Linked DNA regions of Homo sapiens: regions 2, 3 and 4 are each linked to region 1. The links are contacts of gene promoters, found by promoter capture Hi-C in blood cells and fetal thymus (Javierre and others, 2016). All regions are on one chromosome and are shown on one strand. Each heading gives the region's core, a stretch centred on a gene start or on the middle of the fragment in contact. The rest is flanking DNA. Distances are from core to core; before and after follow the strand shown.

Region 1 (4,241 bases), core at 1,154-3,653:
TCAAGGTGAGATCTGGGTGGGGACACAGAGCCAAACCATAGCCGTCTTCCTTATAAGGAGTATCCAAAGACACAAAATTTGGCAGGATGTTGCCAACACAGTGTCCCAGGAAAAAGTTATTCCTGATCCACAAATAAGATCCTTTTCCATTGTGGAGGATGATTTCTCAAACCATTGTAACTGGATGATACTGGCTAGTATAATGACATATCGTTTTCCTCCTGTTCTGATTCTATGCACATAAAATACTGTTTTAATTAAAATTTGGTTTTCCATACACATTTGGCTGGAGGAGAATGGGCTGATCACCCAAAATGAATATTTAGCCTGCTTGATATGTATATTTCTCATTGTAAATTAATGACTCAAACACCATTTTTGGACTCCCTAAACCAGAAGTAATTCTGTTTCTTCTAAAAACTCTTTACTTCAACTATAGCAATTATTTATTTTGCCTCATTATTGTTAGTTGTTTACATGTTTATGTTTGACCAGATGGTAAAAACCTTCAAGTATATGACTGTTTCTTTTCTTTTTTTTTTTTTTTTTTCTGAGACAGGGTCTTACTCTGTTGCCCAGGCTGGTCTCAAACTCCTGGGCTCAAGTGATCTGCCTGCCTTGGCCTCCCATAACGCTGTGATTACGAACGTGAGCCACTGCGCCTGGCCTAAATATTTCTAATTCTTTTTTTGTTTTCAGTTCCCTACTGTGAAAATTTAAGTAGATTCTTAAATGTTTGATGGATAAATGACTGGATGAATAGCATCATGTGATTATTCTCTTCCCAAGACTGAAAAGTAAACACCAAGATTGTACGCACCTTATTCTTTTCATTTTGAATAATTTCTAATAGCTGGTCTGTGTGCCCTTCTTCTATGCATCTTTGCCCAGCTAACTGAAATAGGCCAAAATCCTCTTCTTTAAAGTCTTGCTCTTCTAGGATTTGCTGGCAAAAAAAAAAAAAACCCAAAAAACAAACAAAAAAAAGTATATGCAAATAAAAATTAAATACAATAACTTCTTGATTTATCTATGAAAAAAGGAAATCTGTTTAAATTCTAGATAAATGTAACGTAAATAACACACGTATCAAAATTAGGATTACCCTAATAAATACTTTAATAAGTGACCTTGAAATCTACTGTACCAGTGAAATCTATGAAAAGGATCAGGATTAAAATGTAAAAGGTTATTTAGATAAGTATGTCACCTGGAGAAATAATCCAATCTGCCTCCCCCACTCATGCTCTTTACAGGTCAAAAAAAGCAAGGATTAAAGAAGATAAACAATTTGAGTGACCACAAATATAATTAAAAACAATCTGTGCCCTTCCCATATTTTGAAAGGTATTTAATTTTACAAAAATTAATACTTACACATCTCTTTATTATAGACTGAAGTTCCTCTACAGCCATTCTTATTTCTCCTAGTTTCGATGCTAAAATCTACAAATACAAAACACACTGTTAACTATCCGTGATATTACACTTAAGTATTCAAAAGTTATGTTTCAGTGTGATAAATTATTAGTAAATACAATAAAGAAAATGGAAAGTTTTTGTTGTTGTGTTTTTTGGTCCAATAGCATGCTAGGAGAAAATGTAAAGTTTTAAAGTTGAAATGTTATTACTGAATCTTAGTATGTTTGCCTAAGAAAATAAAGTGTTTTTTTAGAAGCCCTTATTGCATGTTTTAAGTTTTCTAGGAGCATAGTTTTGAAAGCTACTTTGAAGGAAAAAAAAACAAAAAAAACCTCTCGAGCACTCCCAAGAGGCGAGGCATATACGAACTAAAGGGCTTTTAAAAAGCAAAGCACTTCTTTTCTGAAAAAAAATTTCCAAAAGGTGGACCTGAAATCAAAATTCTAATCATCAGGGGATTTTTCATTTTTAATGTCTCACCTCACAAAAATTGGGGTGCAACACAAGCTTATCTATAGGGGGTGAAGATTCAGATGCCCTCCATTCCATTTCTCTCTAGGAGTTGCAGTCCCCAAAGTGATCAATCCAGCTAGTGAAATCACTGTATCACACGGAGACAAGACAACGGCGGCCTTCAGGAGGAGACCATCGCTTCTCCTGGCGGCAAGGCTCGGCCCCAAGCCCTCAGTAGGGGCGCGAGTCAGCCCGGTCCTCAGGGCAGCGCGCTGGAAGGCGAGTGAACACCCCAGCGCGCGTGCGGGCTGCATCAGAGGAAGCCATGTCTTCCGATTCCTGCTCGCCTAGGTGGGCAGGCTCCACCACCTCGCGTGGCCTAGTCGGCCCGCAGCACCAAGTCCGCCGCGGCTCACGGCCAACCGCGAGCCCTGGCCACCCTGAACCTCTCCACAACTCCACTTACCGGCCAGAACCCTCGCCTCTCCCAGCCGCCGCCACCTCCTCCGGCGTCTTAGCCCGCTCTTCTGGCCCCGCCCCGCGCTACGCGTAGGGAGGCGGGGCCTCGGGGCGAGACGCCGGAGCGTGTCCCCGTCCGGCAGACTACTCTCCCCCATGGCGGACTTCGCTGGGCCGTCTTCTGCCGGCCGCAAGGCCGGGGCTCCCCGCTGCTCTCGAAAAGCCGCAGGTAGGAGCAAGGATCTCTTCCCACTTTTGGACCCTGAAAGCTGGGCCCCGATCTCGAGTTATAGACCGCAGCGCGCGGGCGCTCCTGAAAGGCTGCTTCAGGGGAGGGGTTCTCCCAGGTAGAGTAGGCCGAAAGCTTCCCACCGCCGTCCGCACCTCCTGGGAAAGATTTCCTGGCCGCCCCTCACCCCTTTACGCCAGTGTTCCAAGATTTCCCTCACGCGGACTGTGGCCCCAGCCTCTGAGACAAAGGACAGTGGAGGCCCCGGGAACCCAGGCCTGGGGTCCCCGGGTTTCGGGGCAAGTGACTAGGGCAGCGTTGGCAGCTGGCCTTGAACCTAGGACCGGTCCTCCTTTCCAGATTGCTTGGGTGCCCAGTTCTTTAAGGTGCCGGACTCCCCTCTTCCCCCAGAGAGGACGTTTGGCAGACGGAGAGAGGTTTCCCCTAAAAGTACCCAGATCTCAGATTTTCAGGAGTGGTTAATTAAGCAACTATGATACAGAAGAAAATTCAATCCCCAAAGAGATACATTTTAACCAAGAAAAATTAGACAGTAATCAATTTGCAAAAACAAATTGCTCTCCCTTCCTATTTCATTTTGATTTACACACGATTGGACATAAAATATGTGGAAAAGAAGAAAAGGTGGTCTACAGTTTGTTATTTGTGTAGGAATCTATCTTGTACCTAATGTGTTTGTGTAGACCTGACCTACTGCCACCATGTGTAGCTTAACTGCGGGGATGCATTTTGAGAAATAAGTTGTTAGTCGATTTCATCCTTGTGTGACCATCATCGAGTGCACTTACACAAACCTAGATGGTACAGCCTACTTACACACTAGGCTATATGGTACAGCCTATTGCTCCCAGGCTACAAACCTGCACAGCATGTTACTGTACTAAGTACTGTAGGCAACTGTATATCTAAACATAGAAAAGGTACAGTAAAAATACAGTATTTTAATCTTATGAGACCGCTGTCTGTATGCTGTCCGTCGTTTACGGAAATGTCATTATGTAGCACATGACTGTATTTTTATTGTAGGTACTAAACAGACAAGTACTTTGAAACAAGAAGATGCTTCTAAAAGGTATGACAGCTACATGGACAACTACATTGGCATATCTACTTATCTTGTATTACTTGTACCAATTTTAAAACAATAATGGTTACCTTTTTTTTTTTAGAGAAAATTATCATGAGAGGGAAGGGAAAGATCTGGGAAGGCCTATAAATTCTCACATAGACTGTTACATTCCTCTACTCCAGGCTTTAAGAAAACCAAACTAAGCACTCAGACTGCTAGTGAAGGAATGAGTGTCTGTAGAAGGTGTTTGTTTTTCACCGCTTCAGGTACACTCTCCTTTTATTGCTTTATATGCCAGAGACTCACTCTCCAAGTTTCGCTGTCACTCCAAGAAACCTTTTCTGTTCTTTGTTACATCAAGTCCAGATTTTCATTAAAAAGCTGTCTTGTACTAGTTCTGGTTCTAAAAAGGCAAGATATTACCACATATCACACAGAGTTTCTAGAAGAGGAGTAGAATGTGAAGGGGATTAAAAGCATATGTAGCTATGATTTTTATTTTGTGAAGACTCACTAATCTTATATTGGCTTTGGTCTTAATTTACTCATTCTTTCAAAAATTATTTATTGAGTATAAGATATGTCGGA
Region 2 (4,241 bases), core at 442-2,941, 800 kb before region 1:
CCAAGCCGGGAAATTCTCCCTGCAGCCCCCTGCCGGTGTTTCTGATAGGTGAAAATAAAGCACATGGAATTCCTTAGACAAGGCCACAGTATGCCCTACTGTGGAGGTTTGGACACATCGTGCGTTTGAAAATGTTTGCCCCTTTGGGGGGCAGTAGCATGTTTTTAGTGCGTGGTTTAGCGAGTGATCTAAATTTCTCTAGTGTTCTAATTTTCACAGCTGCTTTGCTCCCCCTGTGGATGTAACCCCTTAGCTGGCATTTTGCATCTCAATTGGCTTGTGATGGAGGCGTCTTTGGGGATTCAGATGGATGAGCCAATGGCTTTTTCTCCCCAGCGTGACCGGTTTCAGGCTGAAGGCTCTTTAAAAAAAAACGAGCAGAATTTTAAACTTGCAGGTACGTGTTTAAATCCAAAGATGTACAGTTATAAAGATTTTTCAGGCAACAATTCTGTGTTTTCAATTCCTCTCAAAAAATAAGATTGAATCTTATAAAGTGAATTGTATGTTTCTATAGGACAGTGTTAAAACAGAGCTTCGTATGATCTAAATGTAGGACTGAATTGCGATTTGGAAGACTGTAATACAACCTGTTTTACGGTTGAAGTTGCTATGGTCTCAGTATTGGTAATTAAGAATGCAGAAATTTGATGATGCCCAAATTAAATTTCTCTTTTGTATCTGTGTTCTTATCTCTACTCACCACATTGCCTTAAGCTTAAATGTAGAAATTGACACTGGAGATCATCACTTAAGTATTCAAAAGCAGAACTCACAGACAAAAAAATATGAAATGTTTGTAGCAATAATAAAGCACCATATCTCAGTGTACAGCATGAAATGTTCTTTGACCGTAAACCAGACCTTAGGGTGAATAAGACAGGGTCAAGCAGTGCCTGCTCTTGTACACTCGCATGTGTACCTTCATTTCTGCTCTGGCACAGGACCTGGGACATAGTAGGTATTTGTTAATAATAAATATTTGTTAAATAGAGGAATTCTAGTTGACTGTATTTTTTTTTTTCTGAAAGGGTAGCCAGATCATCTTTCCCATCTTTGTCTTAAGTGAATTCTGTGCTTGTCTAAAAGATACTTATTTTGACCTTTTGTCCATATATTCTTTATAACCCCACCCTAGAAAAATATGACATCACATACTTTCTGCTTTGATGGAAGTCAGTTATCCCACTTACCTAAACTTGAAACTTTAATCTTCAGCTGATGCTTTTTATTTGTTCCCCATATCGTCACCTAGCTTTATTTCTTTTTAGTAAGTATGGCATTGTGTCTTCTTTCCATTCCCATTTCCACCACATTAATTAATTTCCTTACACTTTGTTCCTGATTTACAACAGTTTCTCACCTATGCTGCCTGCTTGCACTTTTCCATTCTTCAGTTCATCTTGTATGTTGGTGCTAGAATAATCTTAAAATGCCACTTTCATCCAGTTTCATGGATACTGTTCCTCTTCCTTTCCATTTTTCCAGCAGTTAGCTGTTTTTTTAGTTCATCTTTCCCTTACTAGTCACTGGACACATAACACAGTAACACAGTCATTGTAGTATTCTTTTTCTATTGCTTAGGACTCTGCATTTTGTCTCCACTGTAAACCCCTTGGCGGCAGTATCTCCTCTGGTTTCTAAAGTATGTTGTGACTTCAGCAGAGTATCTGAATGGATGACTCTGAATTGGTTCTAGCATCATGTTTAGGAGAATGCCACTATTCTAATATTCTGAAAATCTGCTGGGAAGTAATGAATGGGGTGAATTTTATTACGGATTTCAAAAGTTTTGTAGCGTTTATGTAACAGAACATTGGACATTATAATATGATAAATTATAAAACGTGCTAAAACTTTACTCTTATGGTTCTTTTTTAAATATGATCTTAATAACAGCTAAAGTTATATAAACATAACTTCAATAGGGAGCAAAGCTGATGAGGTCCAGGCACATAACAGTCTAGTAATCTAATTGGGAAAGTAAATCAAATTAGATCATGAGACAGGTATATGCCTGCACCTCATCAACTTTACTCCTTATTGAAGTTATATTTTTGATTGGATGTTTTATATATCTTAGCATTCCCAGAGCTTAACAGTGTCCAGCACATAGTAGGTGCTTGAAAATATTTGAATGAATGATTTAATGTAAGGATATAAAGTAAAATACTTAGTGTAATGGATGAATAGCATGTCTCTTTATTTTGAGATATTTGTCAGATTTTTATAACATTTTTCTGATAAACATGATTATTGAAATTTTTGAAGTAAAGAAAGCCAAAATAAAGTCTTTTCCCATTATTGAAATATTGCCACTGTTGACATTTTGTTATATTCCTTTAGCCTTTCTAGGCATACATAGGTACATTTTTTAGAAACTAAATTGGGATCTTGTTTTGTTTTTGTTTTTGAAAAGAGAACCAGAATATGGGATCTTATTTCTGATCTCCATTTTTTTTAATATATATCTTGAATATTGCTCATGTAGTAAATATTCTACAACTGGATTTAAGGTCCATTGCATATTATATTATAATATATTCAATCACCTTTTACTATTGACCCTATAGATTGTTTCTATTTTTTCCTATTAAGAAAAATGCTGTAATGCACAAACTATCTGGCATAATATTGGTCAAATGTTTATTCTTTCACTGTTTTGGCAAGCTTTTTTTTTTTTTTTTGAGACATGGTCTCTCTGTCACACCACTGTCACTGGAGTGCAGTGGTGCAATTACAGCTCACTGCAGCCTTAACTCCTGCACTCAAGCAATCCTACCCCCTCAGCCTCCTGAGTAGCTTGGATTACAGGCATGTGCCGCTACACTCAGCTAATTTTAAATATTTTTTTTAGAAACAGGATCTTGCTATGTTGCCCAGGCTGGTCTCAAACTCCTGGCCTCAAGTGATCCCCTCCTATCTTGGCCTCCCAATGCACTGGGATTACAGGTGTGAGCCACCATGCCTGGCCAGTAAGCTTTTATTTTTTTTTAAGTATCTACTATATGCCAAGTTTTAATAAGTGAGAAAGATCTGTTCAGTGAAAGAATGATGTATAAACTCTATATTGAAAGTCTCCTCCATACTGGTGAACTCTACTGGAAGGAAGGCTTGCTTCATTCTGTTTGCTACAATGACACCCTTAGCCATGCTTCTAAAATGGGCTATGGGTACCATCTTTGTTTGCCTGGGACAGATCTAGCTTACGGCTATTGTCACAATGTAATTATTATTCCTGCTGCCTTTTCACTCAAGAGTGTCCCAGTTTGGGCTTATATTATGTATTATCCCCTAGTTCCAGGAGGTATAAACCAGAGAGTACATGAAGCCCCAGAATAACCATGACTATATGCCTAGAGTGTCAGTTTTAATCCATGACAAGATATTGAAAACGTTTCATTTATGTGATGAATATTTATTGTCTGTTATATACATGTACTTTTTTAGGTGCTAGGGATAAATCAAACCATAAAACAGAAATTAACACTGTGGTAGTTAGACAATAGACAGAGAGTAAACAAAAGAAGTAAATACTGTGCTCAAAAGTGATTAATGTTACTAAGAAAATGTAAAAGGGAAGGGGAGATAGGAAGTATTGGGGAAGGAGATTGTAATTTTAGTGAGTATGGTTGCTCATAGCCTTCTGTAACATTTGAGCTAAGACTTCAAGGTGGTGAAGGAGTGACCTGTGCAGATATTTGGGGAAGAGCATTCCAAACAGAGGAAACGGCAAGTACAAAGACCCTGAAACGGCAAGTACAAAGACCCTGAGATGGGAGTGTGCCTAGCATTCAAGAATAGCAAGGAGGTCATTGTGGCTAGAATGGGGAAGGTAATTGGAATGAAGTCAAAGAGAGATGTAAAGAGGCTTTCTAATGGAGTGAGATGTGAAACCATTAGAGGTTTTGAGCACAATAGTGACAAGGTGACTTAGCTTTATCAGAATACTCTGTTTAAACTCTGTTTGCTATGTTGCAAGCCGACTGGCTACTATGTTACAGATAGACTCCAGGCTGGCAAGGAGTGTAGTTAAGGAGACTATTGGTATATTAAAACCAACTTGGATATATTATGCAGCAGAAAACAAAAGTGACTTAAAATGTCAAAATAGAAGCCTAGACCTTCATGTATAAAATAGAGGCATTTAAATAATTTTTAGCATATTATAGATTTTCGGGATCCTCCTCCAGTCCTCAAAGTCTGTTTCATTTGTCTGTCTTTAGTACTGTTTTCCAGCT
Region 3 (4,241 bases), core at 653-3,152, 780 kb before region 1:
AGAACCAGCTGAACCTGGGAGATGGAGGTTGCAGTGAGCCAAGATTGCACCACTGCACTCCAGCCTGACGACAGAGCAAGACTCTGTCTCAAAAAAACAAATAATAAAAATAATGCCATAGGACTTGTCTCAGTTGTATTAGTATGACATCTGTAGTTATTTTAGTCTTGATCTTACTATAACTTTGGACTGAGTATAAAAGCCTCAAAATTTCAACAAACACAACTGTGTTCCCCTTTGTAACCTAAAGAAATGACTTGGCTGAGATTAGCAGTGAGAGCACCTTTACTTCTCTTATCTGTCCTCAACCCTTAAACCTGGCTCCATTGTGGGTTGTCATTAAGTACTCAGTGAATTGTGTTGAATAAATTAAAAAGAAAAGTCTTGAGCTGAAACAAATTCCTGACACATAGTAGTCTGTAATAAAATATGTTGACTGATAGTGTTACTTGAAGTTATTTTTCCTGAATATTGTAAATGAACCCTCTTTTTGGTCATATAAAAAAAAGCATATTGTATAACTTGGGGACATGCTATAACATATACTATTAGTTATTTTATGACTTCAGAACAAGCTAATAAAGGAATAAAACTATATGAATATTCCCCCCTGGCTATAATTTTCTAGAGAGAATAGGAATGATAGAATCAGTTTAAAAGTAAAAAAGCATTGGCATATTGTACTCTCAAAGAATTTGGTCTTCAGTAATTGTTTGTTTCCTCCCTTTCCCTCCCCCATTTTTTTCCCTGGCTTAGTACACCAGTCCAGTAGTTAGTTCAGAATATGTAAAGGTAACTTTTTATCATCCACAGTCAGATTAATGACTTTGTTGACAATCTACATTCTCAGAAAGGCATCTAAATGTTGTGGTACTTGTTGTTTCGTACATTTAGTATATTTCTGTTTAATAAGGAAATGTAAGGCAAAAATAATACATGATTGCCATTTGTGTGATTAACTTTTTTTTGCACATCTGATAATAAACCCATCAGGAAGTTATTTCAAATACATTTATATTTTTAAAAACAGATCTAGTTTGTTTATTTGTTCATTCAGAAACATTTATTGGGGCTTTATGTGTGCCAAGTACTATTGCGAGTCTCTGCTTTCACAGAGCTTAAATTCTAGTGAGGGAGAGAACATAAATAAATACTATGAGAAATGAGTGGTACTGAGATAAAAGGAAAAGGGGAGGGAAGAGGCTTATTTAGGATAGGTTGGTCAAGAACAGCATCTCTAAGGATGTATGTGTCATTTGAACAGTTGTTGAAAAGAATAATGCCTTTTTGTCTAGTCCAACAGACATTAACTGACTACCTAATCTGTACCAGGCATAGGCTGGGTTTGGGGGGTTCAAAGATAAATAAGACAGTTCCTGCCTTCAAAGAGCTCAGTCTACTAGGTGGGACAGACATATATAGGATAGCAAAAGTAATAGTAGAACTCTCAAGATACAGTAGAAACTGAAATTGATCAGTTCTCTCTGAGGGTGTCAAGCCTCAGAGGTGATTCTTGATCTGAGTGGTGATGTCAGTGAGAGTGTCCTGGGCACACAAGGGGTGCAGGGCATCCTAGGCAAAGACAGGAGTCATGTAGTCAAAGACATAGAAGCATGGAAAGGAAGTAGAGTGGGGGCGTGGGAGCTGCAGCTAGTTAAAGATTATAGAAGGGTAAGATGAAGCTTGAGAAATTGGCAGAGTCAAGTGAGTGCCTGGCATAGCTTAGTAAGTCACTGCTTTGTACTTACTATCTCCCACTTTATCTCCCACTATGCAATTCAAATACAACTTAAATATAGCATGTGGTGCTCTATCTCATACTGTGTGTGTGTGTGTGTGTGTGTGTGTGTGTCCATGTCTATAAAGCATATGTTTGAACTTTCATGTTTCTCATGAGAGAGGCTTCTGATATATTCAAATAATAAAATGTTTTTTTCTGTTTTTGTTTTTTCTTCTTTTGCTTTTAGGGAAATCAATATTATGTAGCAAAGAAGTTCCAGCACAAGACTTGAGAAAACTCTGTGAGAGACTCAGGGGTATGGATTCTAGCACTCCCAAGTTAACAAGTGATATACAAGGGCATGCTTCTCATCAACCAGCTATTTCAGAGAAGACTGACCATAAAGCTTCTTGCCTCGTTCAAACACCTCCAGGACAATACTCAGGGAATTCATTTAAAAAGGGGGATAGTAATAGCTGTGAGCATTGTTTTGATGAGTATAATACCAATTTAGAAGGCTGGAATGAGGTACCTGATGAAGCTTATGACCTGCTTGATAAACTTCTAGATCTAAATCCAGCTTCAAGAATAACAGCAGAAGAAGCTTTGTTGCATCCATTTTTTAAAGATATGAGCTTGTGATAATGGATCTTCATTTAATGTTTACTGTTATGAGGTAGAATAAAAAAGAATACTTTGTAATAGCCACAAGTTCTTGTTTAGAGACCAGAGCAGGATTAATAATTTATTTTAACATTTTAGTGTTTGGTGGCACATTCTAAAATATAGATTAAGAATACTTAAAATGCCTGGGATAGTTCTTGGGACTAACAACATGATCTTCTTTGAGTTAAACCTACCTAAGTAGATTTTAGGTGGGTTCCTATTAGGTCAGATTTTTAGCTTCCCTAATTACCTTTCACTGACATATACAGAAAAAGGAGCAGTTTTAGTTTTAATTAATTAAAATTAACAGATGTGATGAGGATTAAATGAATCAAAAGACTTAATTTGTAGATTCTTTTAGAGTTATGAGCTAGGTATAGTTTGGGGAAACTCAACCTGGTGCTGGTGCTCTTAACAATTTTGTAAATAAAGAAGATAATTTCCTTTTCTAGAGGTACATATTAGGCCTTTTATGAACACTAAAACAATGAGGAAATGTTGGTCATGGGGCAAAGTATCACTTAAAATTGAATTCATCCATTTTTAAAAAACACTTCATGAAAGCATTCTGGTGTGAATTGCCATTTTTTTCTTACTGGCTTCTCAATTTTCTTCCTTCTCTGCCCCTACCTAAAACATTCTCCTCGGAAATTACATGGTGCTGACCACAAAGTTTCTGGATGTTTTATTAAATATTGTACGTGTTTACAGTTGGGAATTTAAAATAATACATACACTGGTTGATAAAGGGAAGCTGCAGGACCAAGGTGAAGATTGATAGTCCAAATGCTTTTCTTTTTTGAGTTGTATATTTTTTCACACCATCTTAGATATAATTAGGTAGCTGCTGAAAGGAAAAGTGAATACAGAATTGACGGTATTATTGGAGATTTTTCCTCTGCGTAGAGCCATCCAGATCTCTGTATCCTGTTTTGACTAAGTCTTAGGTGGGTTGGGAAGACAGATAATGAAGTAGGCAAAGAGAAAAGGACCCAAGATAGAGGTTTATATTCAGAAATGGTATATATCAATGACAGCATATCAAACTTCCTATGGGAAAAAGTCTGGTGGGTGGTCAGCTGACAGATTTCCCATTTAGTAGTCATAGAATACAGAAATAGTTTAGGGACATGTATTCATTTTGTTATTTTGAGCATTGATAGGTCAGTATATCTACCTAATCTGTTTGGTAAGTATAGGATATATAAACCATTACCATTGATCTGTCTTATGCCATAATCTTAAAAAAAATTTGAATGCTCTTGAATTTGTATATTCAATAAAGTTATCCTTTTATATTTTTTATGTCAGACTACTCATTTGAAAAATAGCTTTTTTTTTTAATTGACAACTGGGAATATTTTTCTTTTGAGATGGGTGAATGGTGATATTCTTTCAGCAAATAGTATGTTAATGAAACAGTCATGTTAACATATATTCAGAAATTAAAGAGGAAGAAAAATTTACCCAAAGGGTAGATAAGGAGACATTCTCTAAGAAAGTTTAATATTCAGGGCTGTTGTTTTAACTTTCATTAATGGCAAAGAACTTGGTTGATATTGAGGGGGAAGTAAAAGGGAGCTAGTGTTTTTAAATATACCCAGTGTTACAAATTAGTTCTCGGGGAATTTCAGTCCCACTGAAGAATATTGCCTCAATTTTGGACAAATATTCCCAATGTGCTAAATCAGAATTGGCAGGGAGCTTTTATATGCGTATTCTTTAGATTTTTAAGCCTTCTGAAGACCATTTTAAATAATGGGAAATGTCTCTAAAATATTTGAATTTCTAAGGATAGACTAAGAAGGTAACTAGTTAATGCCATTTCCTCTTAATCAGCTATTTTTCACTGTCA
Region 4 (4,241 bases), core at 976-3,475, 750 kb before region 1:
TATGCCATCTTGTAGTTCTCATTTGAGACACATCCCAACTTGGCCATTCAGTATATTTACAAATCTATCTCAAAACAAAACGTTTGCTTTTTTATTCTTTTTTAGCCTCCTGGGATTATTTATTTATTCAATAAACATTTATGGAGCTCCTACTATGTGCTAGCCACTTGGAAACATGCTAGAGAGAGACATGAACAAAGTATTCCTTCCCCTATTCTAGTGAAGGGAGATGGCCAATAATCAAACAAACAAAATTCATAAACAAGAAAAGTATCAGAGAGTGGGAAGCACTACACAGAGAATTAGAATAGGGAGATTCAACAGACAGTAACTGGATGACTTCTTTATATCAAGCTGTCAGAAAGGTTCCCTAAGGAAGCAACATTTAAGCAGAGACATGTTTAACATTTGAGTAGAAGAGGCTTCCTGGAAGAGGAAAAATTCTGGATCCAAGGTTCTAGGACTTGAATAAACATGACATTCTGCCTCTGATCTCCTCAATTCTACCTCATTAAATTGTGAACTTCAGAGGGTCAAGAGCTGGATGATCCATTTTTATGATTAGAAAGTGATTCCTTCAATGAACCTACTACTTCTTCCTACATTCTTGTTAGAACTTTCTCAGCTATGAATCAGACTTTTCCAGGAAACTTCTACAGTCTTTACTTTGGTGACTACAACCACAATACTCAGTTGTTCCCAAGCAGAAAACTGAGGTTCATTCAAGACTTCAGTATTTGATCAAGATATTTTGCTTGGTAAGCTGGCTATTTTTTGATATAGTTTTATTTTCCCCATCTAGCTGGAATAAGATCATCAAAGTTGGTCATCTTACCTGACATAGCCTAGATATTTTCTTCTTCAGTACTAAACTTAGATGTCCCCACCTTTACAGAGTACATATTAGAGTAAGCAAGGCTAGGTTATAGCAAATAAGCCCCATAGTCCTTCTGTGGCTCTCCTCTAAGCAGTGACTTAGAGATCCTTATTGTTTTCATCTTATATTGCTGCCATCTGGATTCAGAGGTTACAACAGAAGGGAAAGAAAGTGGGAACATGGACAGTTGCACAGTGAATTTTATGGCCAGGCCTGAGAGTAGCATACATCATTTCTGCTCTATCCTATTGGATATCCAGTCATGTGGCCCCAACCTAAGGACTCCTAAGGGTGTCTGGGAAGTGTAGTTTCCCATGTGCTTGGGAAGTGATAGATGGCATGAAATTTGGCGACCCCCAAAGCTTTATCTCTGCTATAGGAAGCCACCCTTCTCTGTTATTCTCCTCTTCAGTCTGGGTTAGGTGCCCCTCTTCGACTGTAGCACAGTCTGATATATAATAGGCACTAAATATGTTTGTTGGTTAGATGAAATGAAAGATGGATTAATTGTAACCTAAGATCTTACGTCTATTAAAAGAGTGAACTAGAATTAATCAGTATTGAATTGGTTAATTAACAGAAAATTCTCTATTCATTCAAGGTATGCCTAAGAATTATAGGAAGAAATTGAAACTACACTGTTAAAAAATAGACTAGATTGGGGATCCCTAGGAAATTCCTTTTATTATTTCAACACACAACCTTAGTAGCCAAAGTCACTCCAACTCTCCTCCCCTCTGAGTCACTCTGGCAATCACTCTGTAGTTATTTCAAAGATTGGGAAATTTTCTGAAGGCAACATGGCCTGTCGATGGCATTGACTTTGGCTCCCCTCACCATCACTCTCATTGTTGCCATTAGCCCGTTTTTAAGGCCCTGAAGTTGGCTGCCCTTGAAATAAAGTGGGAAAACCTGCATTTGTGGGCCAGCTTGGTCCCCAGCCCAGTTCCCCAGCCAAAGAAAGTGAACAATCCTGTATTTGTGGCATCCTGAGCCTGCAGTGACCTTCCGGGCCAGCCAGGATGCCAGAGGGAATGCACATTCTCTGAAATGACAGTAGAGGAAGAACCAACCCATTGCCCCGGGACTAATGAATGGGTCCCTCTTTTCCCCCTGGGACAGCCTTAACAGGGCCACATGTAGGGCTTAACTCTTTTGTATCTTGAGCTTTATACATAGAGGCTGATCTGTCTTGTTTCTTAGCTGGAAATTAATTGGGCTGAAAATAGATAATTAGTTTTCAATGTTAACTGCAGTTATTTATTTATTTGAGTGATTATTTGATTAACGTATTTCTTTACCTTAATACTAGAGAGCAAGGACTATGTCTGCTTTGTTTTTCATTTTATTCCCTAGTAGTTAGCATAGTGCATGGCAGAGAGTAAGTTGTAGGGAAATATTTATTTACATGCAGAATGACTGTGGCAAACCTTGTCTCAAAGCTCAAGCTCTTATTTTGTTTTGTTTTAGCATTGTTTCCCCCGAGAGTGATCATTTCTGCTTCTTGTTATAAGTATAAAATACATTATCAAGTGGCTTCTGCTGTGTGTTTTTGACTCAGTGAATCCCAGAACCATCAAGACAGAGGCTGGGGATCAGCCCCTTCACCAGCTTTCAACTTTGGGCTGGTGGTGAAACCTCATTTTCAATTGCTTATGTATACATGTATCCTGAGTGTAATCAACAGGACTGCTCCACAAACCCAGGGGGTAAATACTGTCACATTTAGCTTCTTTACACAAAACAAGTAGCCTAAGTTCCCATGGTTTATCAGACTGTGGGATTAGCAGAAAGTCTAGCCTCTCCGTCTTGGGGCCCTCTGTCTCCCCATAACTTTTCCAAAATCCCAGAGGTTTACATAATTCAAAAAGAAGGGTCAGCCTGACTTTCACACTCCAGGGGGGGAAATGTTGCTGATCATTGCCACATGGCTGTGGAAAGTGCCCACTTGAGCCTTCAGATGATGTTAGTTCAAGGCTTTGCACAGGCTATTCAAGGTCTATCTGAGTCTGTTTGTGCTACAGTAACAAAATGCCTGAGCCTGGGTAGTTTATTATCAACAGAAATTTCTTTCTCACAATTCTGGAGGCTGGGAGTCCAAGATCAAGGCACTGGCAGGTTCAGTGTCTGGTTCCAAGATGGCACCTTCTTGCTTTATTCTCTGAAGGGGAGGAACAGTGTGTTTTCCCATGGGAGAAGAGTGGAAGAGCAACATGGACCGAAACTAGTTCCTCACACTCTTTTACAAGGCACTAATCCATTCATGAGGGCGGAGCTCTCCTGACTTAATCACTTCCCAAAAGGCCCCACCACTCAGTACCATCACATGGAGATTAAGCTTCAACACATGAATTTTGTAGGGAACGCATTCAAACCACAGCAAGGTCTCTTCAGGAAAATGATCAACCTTGTGTTCAGCTTGGCCAAGATGGCCCCTTGCTTAAGTTCCCAGAACTGCAGAAAGTTAGTTCTTAGTACTAACTTTCAGTCCCTTATGTGACCTTTCTGCAAAGATCCAGTCATCCAGAGGGGTGGCATCAGATTGTATCAGGCCGTCCAGCCCTATAGACCCCAAACTTCTGTATACTCTTCATCCCCTGGGACTATTACATTGCAGGTCTGACAACTTTTCCTATTCCATCTTTGAAACATAAAAAGTTCTCATTATTTCTCACTTCCAACAAATAGGGCTACCCACCGACTTCTTCATACTGGTCACCCGGATGGTCTCTAGGGGGCTCTATTGCCGTCAGGAGGAGGGAACTACTTGCAGTGCTTTAGGACAGTCTGTATTCCCAGACTTTCTGACACCTTTTTTAGTAGAGAAGAGAAGCTGGAGGGGGAGATGGAGAAGGAAGAATGAGGAGAACACTATAATAGAAGCTAAATATCGGCAGATCATTCTACTACACAGCTCTTCACACTGACTGTATAGGCAAATTTCCTGTTTATCCTGAGCAGAAGGCAGCCTTCCTTCTCTAAATTGTACCTACTCAAAAATTTAGGCTACAAACTTACAATCAGGAAGAAAACTGAAAGCTCTTCCTGTTGAGTCATCCGGCTTTAAAGTGCTGGATCTTTGCTGGACATTGTAGTAAATTAATTGAAAGTTTTGTGCAAAATATTATTTCAGGGGATGGGGTAGGCTCCTCGGATGAAACAGCAGTGTGTTTGTGAGGTCAAATTTTTGCTTCTTAGAATAAGAGTCACTTTGATTTTGGTGGGGCAGGATCACCCGTGGGAGGATAACTCATCCACACATATCAGACATGAATCCTTCAGTGAGAGATGGGGAGTGGGAGCAGAGTGGTCAGGGTATCCCTGTGAGGCAAGGGAGGGATCCTGACCTCTGGTGCACCTGACC

Evidence for each region. Contacts are between HindIII fragments. The CHiCAGO score rates a contact against its expected background, and 5 or more counts as called.
Region 2: a fragment that was not itself captured here is called in contact with the fragment with the promoter of GLMN in region 1 in 7 of 17 cell types (megakaryocytes, activated CD4 T cells, non-activated CD4 T cells and 4 more); the score reaches 11.1 in megakaryocytes.
Region 3: a fragment that was not itself captured here is called in contact with the fragment with the promoter of GLMN in region 1 in 1 of 17 cell types (endothelial precursors); the score reaches 5.6 in endothelial precursors.
Region 4: a contact is called between a fragment that was not itself captured here and the fragment with the promoter of GLMN in region 1, in 1 of 17 cell types (activated CD4 T cells). The highest score is 5.0, in activated CD4 T cells.

The regions. Positions count from the first base shown.
Region 1 is chr1:92,296,584-92,300,824 of GRCh38, forward strand. GLMN (glomulin, FKBP associated protein) reads right to left here and starts at 2,404. Exons shown (of 19, transcript NM_053274.3): 1 at 2,342-2,404; 2 at 1,378-1,446; 3 at 821-946. The coding sequence starts at 1,416. It overlaps RPAP2 (RNA polymerase II associated protein 2), which reads left to right and starts at 2,476. Exons shown (of 13, transcript NM_024813.3): 1 at 2,476-2,563; 2 at 3,611-3,656. The coding sequence starts at 2,491. RefSeq lists enhancers at 1,502-2,398, 1,970-2,439, 2,660-2,889 and a silencer at 1,901-2,238. The HindIII fragment of the contact is 769 bases long and covers 1,928-2,696 here.
Region 2 is chr1:91,501,435-91,505,675 of GRCh38, forward strand. CDC7 (cell division cycle 7) reads left to right here. Exons shown (of 12, transcript NM_003503.4): 2 at 220-397. The coding sequence starts at 283. Among named protein-coding and RNA genes, the nearest start is that of CDC7, 2.7 kb to the left of the region's middle. RefSeq lists an enhancer at 59-258. The HindIII fragment of the contact is 1,953 bases long and covers 716-2,668 here.
Region 3 is chr1:91,522,074-91,526,314 of GRCh38, forward strand. CDC7 (cell division cycle 7) reads left to right here. Exons shown (of 12, transcript NM_003503.4): 12 at 1,968-3,691. The coding sequence ends at 2,362. The region is part of intron 4 of LOC102723436 (a long non-coding RNA gene); the gene reads right to left. Among named protein-coding and RNA genes, the nearest start is that of CDC7, 23 kb to the left of the region's middle. RefSeq lists an enhancer at 1,587-1,656. The HindIII fragment of the contact is 444 bases long and covers 1,681-2,124 here.
Region 4 is chr1:91,551,653-91,555,893 of GRCh38, forward strand. All of the region lies in intron 3 of LOC102723436 (a long non-coding RNA gene), which reads right to left. Among named protein-coding and RNA genes, the nearest start is that of CDC7, 53 kb to the left of the region's middle. The HindIII fragment of the contact is 1,976 bases long and covers 1,238-3,213 here.